2 separate regions of the Homo sapiens genome follow, and region 2 is linked to region 1. Evidence: promoter capture Hi-C in human tissues and cell types (Jung and others, 2019). All regions are on one chromosome and are shown on one strand. The core of a region is centred on a gene start or on the middle of the fragment in contact, and the rest is flanking DNA. Distances in the headings are between cores, read along the strand shown. Region 1 holds the start of C19orf18 (chromosome 19 open reading frame 18). Region 2 has its middle 19 kb from the start of ZNF135.

What was found. Contacts are between HindIII fragments. The study calls those that stand out against the background at their distance.
Region 2: a contact is called between a fragment that was not itself captured here and the fragment with the promoter of C19orf18 in region 1, in 3 of the 25 tissues and cell types used here (IMR-90 fibroblasts, aorta and pancreas).

The regions. Positions count from the first base shown.
Region 1 is chr19:57,972,891-57,976,385 of GRCh38, reverse strand. C19orf18 (chromosome 19 open reading frame 18) reads left to right here and starts at 1,852. Exons shown (of 6, transcript NM_152474.5): 1 at 1,852-2,074; 2 at 2,183-2,287. The coding sequence starts at 1,954. The HindIII fragment of the contact is 10,862 bases long and covers 1-3,495 here.
Region 2 is chr19:58,076,695-58,080,671 of GRCh38, reverse strand. No RefSeq gene overlaps it. Among named protein-coding and RNA genes, the nearest start is that of ZNF135, 19 kb to the right of the region's middle. The HindIII fragment of the contact is 6,468 bases long and covers 1-3,977 here.

The DNA of each region.
Region 1 (3,495 bases), core at 603-3,102:
TTGATTGTAGTCCTTTCAAGGCCTGACACATTAGTGGTCACCTGATAAATGTGGCAGGGGCAAGTTAGTTATTGATGGATTTTTTTTTTACATGATTTGTGCAAAGGCCCTTGGAGAGAATGAAGTTAGCAGTATTATCTCATCTTGGAGAAAGCAGCATAATATATCCAGAATCATACTACCAGTAGGATGTGGATATTGTATTCTAATAGCCAGAGTGAATCCAAATTATCTGATTTAGAGATTCCAAAGGATTTCATAAGTCATATGCAATATACCACAAGCATCCTGGTAACTTATAACCTTATTACTAAGATTATTATCTTGAAAAAATTTCTAGGCCGGGCACCGAGGCTCATGCCAGCATTTTGGGAGGGACAGGAGGATTGCTTGAGCTGAGGAGTTCAAGGCCAGCCTTGCAACGTAGCAAGATCCCATCTCTGTTTAAACAGATAAGAGTTTTTTTAATGTCTTAAAGGGCCTCCTGGCAGGGCACAGTGGCTCACTCCTGTCACCCCAGCACTTTGGGAGGCCAAGGTGGGTGAATCATGAGATCAGGAGTTCGAGACTGGCCTGGCCGCCAACATGGTGAAAGCCCATCTCTACTAAAAATACAAAAATTAGCTGGGTGTGGTGGCAGATGCCTGTAATCCCAGCGGTTCCAGAGGCTGAGGCAGGAGAATCGTTTGAACCCAGGAGGTGGAGGTTGCAGTGAGCCAAGATTGTGCCACTGCACTCCAGTGTGGGTGACAGGGCAAGACTCCATCTCAAAAAAAAAAAAAAAAAAAAAAAAGGGCCTCCTGTTGGTCAGGTCACATCACGAGTCAAAAGAAAGTCCCAGACTTCTGCTTCTTCCTGGAAGTATTCCCTTCCTCTCACCTATCATGCACAGCCTGGACAGTATTGATTTCAGTGGTCCCTAACATCCAGCACTCCCAGGTCCCCTCTGTCTCCCTCATACATGACATAGTTCATTGCCTTTTTTGAGCCCGTCTTCTATTCCTCCCATCTCTGAAGCCTAGGGCCCACTTTCAGTCATCAGGAGTCCCCCTTTACCTTCCTGCTGTGGGTCTCCCCTGTGCACATTGCCTCCCTTCTAAGGGTGACTGCTTTCCTTCCACTTTCTTTTCTTTCTTTCTTTGTGCAGTGGTACGATTTTGGCTCACTGCTACCTCTGCCTTCTGGGCTCAAGTGATCTTCCTGCCTCAGCCTCCCGAGTATCTGGGACTACAGGTACACGCCACCATGCCTGGCTAGTTTTTGTTTTTGTGTTTGTTGTTTTATTTTTTTGAGACAGAGTCTTGCTCTGTCGCCCAGGCTGGAGTGCAGTGGCATGATCTCAGCTCACTGCAACCTCCACCTCCTGGGTTCAAGTGATTCTCATGCCTCAGCCTCCCAAGTAGCTTGAACTACAGGTGTGCACCACCACGCCCAGCAAATTTTTGTATTTTTAGTAGAGATGGGCTTTCACTGTGTTGGCCAGGCTGGTCTTGAACTCCTGGCCTCAAGCGATCTGCCCACCTTGACCTCCTAAAGTGTTGGGATCATAGGCGTGAGCCACCGTGCCCATTCCTTTTTTCCTGAACATTTTCCAAGTGAGGTTGTTGGAAATCACGGATGGGGAACTATGCATGCGGAGGGCTGACTGTAATTGATTTCTTTCTGCCTCCTCACTAATCTGCACACTGCAGGCAGGGACCTGGTCTCATCATGCCTGCACCTCCAAGCACTGCCCTCTTACACTGTAGTCTCCCCATTGGTCAGCATGGTTCCATGAAGGAACTCCATTATCACAGCAAGGACTGACCTCACACTGGTGGCTCCAAGTCACTGCCCAAACATTCTGAAGGGAGTAGAACTTCTTGATTCCTCAGATAAATAGAGGACAGATGCTGGACTGTAGCTAAGTATTTCCTTTCATCTACGGGATAAAATACTGATAATTTGAGAGTGATGGACAAGGTTCAGAGTGGTTTCCTCATTTTGTTTTTGTTTTTAATGGAATGCCAACTTCATTTATGCTTGCCGTATGCAGATGGACTCCATCCCACTGGAAACATAACAGGCTTACCAGGTAGCTTCAACCACTGGTTTTATGTGACTCAGGGAGAATTGAAAAGCTGTTTCAGGGGAGATAAAAAGAAGGTAATTACATTTCACCGCAAAAAGTTTTCTTTTCAAGGCAGTAAACGGTCACAACCACCCAGAAACATCACCAAAGAGCCCAAAGTGTTCTTTCATAAAACCCAGTTGCCTGGGATTCAAGGGGCTGCCTCGAGATCCACGGGTGAGTCATTGAATTCCTCATTCAGTGGAGTGAGAATCGTAGCCTGGAGTCCTCTTATCTGCCATGTGAATGTGTACTGTGTGCTTGCTGGTAGAAAGGTCCATAAAATAGAGTATAATTAGATAAACATTTGCTTGGAAATTAGATCTTATGCTCTTCACTCTCTGTTAACTGCTTTCTCTTTAGGGATTGCCACTTTCTTCTCTTTTTCATTTCACTTTAATAAGCGCACACAAAAACCTTGATCCCATCCAGATTACACAGGTATGCCTGTCTGACTTGAATTTGGTGCACATTTGGCAGTAGAGCATGCAAGTCTAGACACAGAAGGTTTGTGAGTGTACAGAATTCTTTTTTTTCTTTTTTTTTTTTTTGAGACAGAGTCTTGCTCTGTCGCCCAGGCTGGAGTGCAGTGGCGCGATCTCGGCTCACTGCAAGCTCCACCTCCTGGGTTCACACCATTCTCCTGCCTCAGCCTCCCAAGTAGCTGGGACTACAGGCACCCGCCACCACGCCAAGCTAATTTTTTGTATTTTTAGTAGAGACAGGGTTTCACTGTGTTAGCCAGGATGGTCTTGATCTCCTGACCTCATGATCCGCCCGCCTCGGCCTCTCAAAGTGCTGGGATTACAGGCATGAGCCACCATGCCCAGCCGAGAATTCTTTATAAGCATTTTCTATGGTTCCCTTCTAATTTGAGTACTAGAGGATGTTTGTTTATCTTATAACAGCAAAACCAACCCCGACAATCTTTGAAGCTCAGCAACCCTTTGTGGAGATATATGATGCTTGTAAATAATCTCCATTCCATGCAAGGGAAATGCTGTCTGTGTGATACATTTGCATGTAATTTGTGTCCGAGGAAAGGACACTATTGTTGGTTCCCTGGCCTCTCTGCCTGGCTCTCTGATCCTTTTTTTTTTTTTTTTTTTTTTTTTTTTTTTTTTTTTTTTGAGACGGAGTCTCACTCTGTCACCCAGCTGGAGTGCAGTGGCGCAATCTCGGCTCACCACAACCTCCACCGCCGGGTTCAAGCAATTCTCCTGCCTCAGCCTCCTGAGTAGCTGGGACTACAGGCGCGTGCCACCATGCCCAGCTAATTTTTGTATTTTCAGTAGAGACGGGGTTTCACCATGTTGGTCAGGCTGGTCTCGAACTCCTGACCTCGTGATCTGCCTTCCTCGCTGGGATTACAGGCATGAGCCACT
Region 2 (3,977 bases), core at 1,375-3,874, 100 kb before region 1:
GTGGGTCTCAGCTCCCATACAACAGTGTGGCAACGTGGACCAGCAAGAAAGATGGGTGGGGTGAGGCAGGAGAGGGTGGCTCAGGTCTGTCCAGTGGAGTTGGCAGGGATGGGATGTGTGCGAAAGGACACAGAGCTCTCTAGGGGGCAAGGGAAAACCCCAGGCAGGTTGGCAGTGAAGAGGGGTAGAGTTCAGGGTGGGTTTATACAGGGTGTCGGAAGGTAGCTGTGTTCTAAGTAAGTAGGAAAAGCAAATGAGAGATGGACACCTGGAAAGATGGGAATACATTTCAATGGGAAAATGCTTAAACACCCTCTGGTACGAGCTGAATTAAATGTCATATGTTGAAGCCTTAACCCACAATCTGATGATATGTGGAGACAAGGCCTTTGGGGAGGTAAATAGGCTAAATGAGGTCGTTGGAGTGGCGCCTGCATCCAATAGGACTAGTGTCCTTATAAGAAAAGCAAGAGGCTGGGCGAGGTGACTCACACTTGTAACCCCAGCACTTTAGGAGGCTGAGGCAGAGGGATCCCTTGAGCCCAGGAGCCAGCCTGGGCAACACAGCTAGACCTCGTCTCTACAAAAAACTTAAAAATTAGCTGGGTGTGGTGGCATGTACCTGTAGTCCCAGCTGCGTGGGGGGCCGAGGTGGGAGGATGACATGAGCCCTGGAGGTCAAAGCTGCAGTGAGCTGTGATACACCACGCACTCCAACCTGGGTGACAGAGCAAGACGCTGTCTCAAAAAAAGAGAGGGAGGACCACGCACAGTGGCTCACGCCTGTACCAGCACTTCGGGAGGCTGAGGCAGGTGGATTACCTGAGGTCAGGAGTTCGAGACCAGTCTGGCCAATATGGTAAAACCCTATCTCTACGAAAAATTAGCCAGGTGTGGTGGCAGGCATCTGTAATCCCAGCTACTTGGGAGGCTGAGGCAAGAGAATAACTTGAACCTGGGAGGTGAAGGTTGCAGTGAACTGAGATCACACCACCGCACTCCAGCCTGGGCGACAGAGCGAGACTCCATCTCAAAAAAAAAAAAAAAAAAGAGATAGCAAGAGACGCCAGAGATTGCTCCCTCTCCATGCACACACAGAGGAAAGGCCATAGGCAGGTGCAGACACAGCAGGATGGCAACCATCTACAAGCTTGGAAGAGAGGCTTCACGTGGAACCCACTCTGACTTCCAGCCTCCAGAACAGGGAGAAAATATTAATAAATTCCTGTTGATTCAGCTTCCCAGCCTGTGGTATTTTGTGATCACAACCCAAGCAGACAAATACATGTCTGCCATCACTATTTGAGTTGAGGAGAGTTTTATGAATCAGTGTCAACTAGTGCAATCATTTTGGAAAGCTAACAGTCCAACTGTATTCAGTAACAATACGGGGCCAGGCACAGTGGTTCACACCTATAATCCCAACACTTTGGGAGGCCAAGGTGGGAGGATCCCTTGAGCCCAGGAGTTCAAGACCTCCCTGGGCAACATAGTGAGACCCCACTTTTTCCTCCACAAAAAGGAAAAAAAAGGACCAAAAATATATATATACACAAGGATGCTGGTTTGCATGAAGTTAAATACTATGACTTAAATATGAATGGTAGAGCCATTCAAAGCAATAGTAAAAAGGCATAAATGATAATTAAGACTAGCAAAATCGAAGAATTTTTTTTTTTTAGACAGAGTCTCGCTCTCGCTCTGTTGCCCAGGCTGGAGTACAATGGCGTGATCTCAGCTCACTGCAACCTCCGTCTCCCAGCTCCAAGCAATTCTCCTGCCTCAGCCTCCGGAGTAGCTGGATTACAGGTGCGCACCACCACACCTGGCTAATTTTTGTATTTTTAGTAGAGACGGGGTTTCATCATATTGGTCAGGCTGGTCTCAAACTCACGTCCTCATGATCCACCCGCCTCAGCCTCCCAAAGTGCTGGGGATTACAAGCGTTAGCCACCGCGCCCGGCGCTGGAAGAGTAATTTGTAAGTGTAGTTCAAGTAGAATGTAACTGTTGATTCTGTTGCAACTGTGTAAACAGTGGGCATTAGTTGTCAAATCCTAGCAGACAAAGTATAGAAATGCAAAGAGTAGTTGTGTTAGGGTCATGAAATTATGAGGACATTTATTTCAGTTTTTTAAATTCCTTTGAAAGTTTTTTTTGTTTTTTTTTTGAGACAGAGCCTCGTTCTGTCACCCAGGCTGGAGTGCAGTGGCACAATTTCAGCTCACTGGAAGCTCTGCCTCCCAGGTTCAAGCGATTCTCTCGCCGTGGTGTACTGAATAGCTGGGATTACAGGCCCCTGCCACCATGCCCGGCTAACTTTTGTATTTTTAGTAGAGATGGGGTTTCACCATGTTGGCCAGACTGGTCTCGAACCCCTGGCCTCAAGTGATCTGCCCACCTCAACCTCCCAAAGTGCTAGGTGTGAGCCACCGCGCCCAGCCATGGGCTTTTATAATAAAGTTCATTTTTCACCATTTTAAAAAGAATTCTCCCAATTATGTAAAAGTTAAAAACACAGATTCGGCCGGGCACTGTGGCTCATGCCTGTAATCCCAGCACTTTGACAGGCCCAGGTGGGAGGATCACCTGAAGTCAGGAGTTCAAGACCAGCTTGGCCAACATGGTGAAACCTTGACTCTAGTACAAATACAAAAAAATTACCTAGGCATGGTGGTGCGTGCCTGTAGTCCCAGCTACTTCAAGAGGCTGAGGCACAAGAATCATTTGAACCCAGAGGCAGAGGTTGCAGTGAGCCGAGATCGTGCCACTGCACTCCAGCCTGGGCAACAGACTACTCCTTTTGACATCTCAGTGTATTTATGTCTCCCAGTCATTTTTCAGGGTATGAGATGTGAGTATAATGTGTTTGGTATATGTGTAGTCTGCGTACATTCTAAGTGTGTCTCTTGGGTATCATGAAAAAATGAGTGAGGTGTCTGATGGGTCTCGGGAATACCCTGTGGACTTCCTTCAGGCAGATACAGAACAGGATAGGGTGATGTGCTTTTGATGCAAAGAAAGGCAGATACTCCATTCTGCCTACCCTGAGTCCAGTGAAGTCAGTGATTTATTAGTAGCTGTTCCTTCAACCTGAGAGGCTCCTGGGATGGGGCCACACTTGGGAACTATGGGCTTCGCAGACAAACTGCTTCAGGAAGTTTGGGCACAGTTCTCACTTGAGGCTTCCGGGTCTGTTTCAGAATCACCCAGTGCCTTGGTGTGCAGATTACCAAACCCCCTCGGACCAACCAAAGCAAGGTCCCAGGTTTAACACCCTCCACCTTCAGGTGGTTTTCACTCACATCAAAATGGGAGATCCATTACCCTTGGCAGTGCTGGGTTCTGTCTTCCCAGTGTCCATGCAGAAGTCTCTAAGACGAGGGTTGCTGGAACCAGGGGTCGATCCAGATTTGTTGGGCCTAAGGCTCACACAACTGAGGGGTCCCTCTTCAGAAGAATAATTCAAAATTACAAAGATAAAATTAGGCGCTTGGTCTTGAAGGGATCCCTGAAAGTGAGGGACCTAGAGTTTCAGCTTACTTTCATGGCAAATCCATGAAGCCAGAGCCTCAAAACATAGTGCAGCCCAGCCTTCCCTCAACTCGAGAGAACATGAATTTGTAGAAAGGTTCCCAGATGTCTCAATGAAATGAACAGCTTTCCAAAGTCCAGCCTCTGGCTGACCAGGTAGCTCTTGAGACACAGGCTCCTGAGGGACCAGCCACATGCGATGGGGGCAACTGCCAGGGAAATCTGCTCAGTGAGAGGGTGGCTTCTGGGACATGGTAAATCTAAGCTCCCCAGCTCCTCACCAAGGCCCCAGTACTGGGGAGGTCTCTCCAGCTGTGGCTCTGCCTGTCTTTTCACGGAGGTTTGCCCTGATGCCATGGTTTTAATGTGACGTCCCTCACCCCATTCACCAAACACAATAATCCCCAAGTTGTTATCATCTCTGGGCTGGTATTCATCTTATCA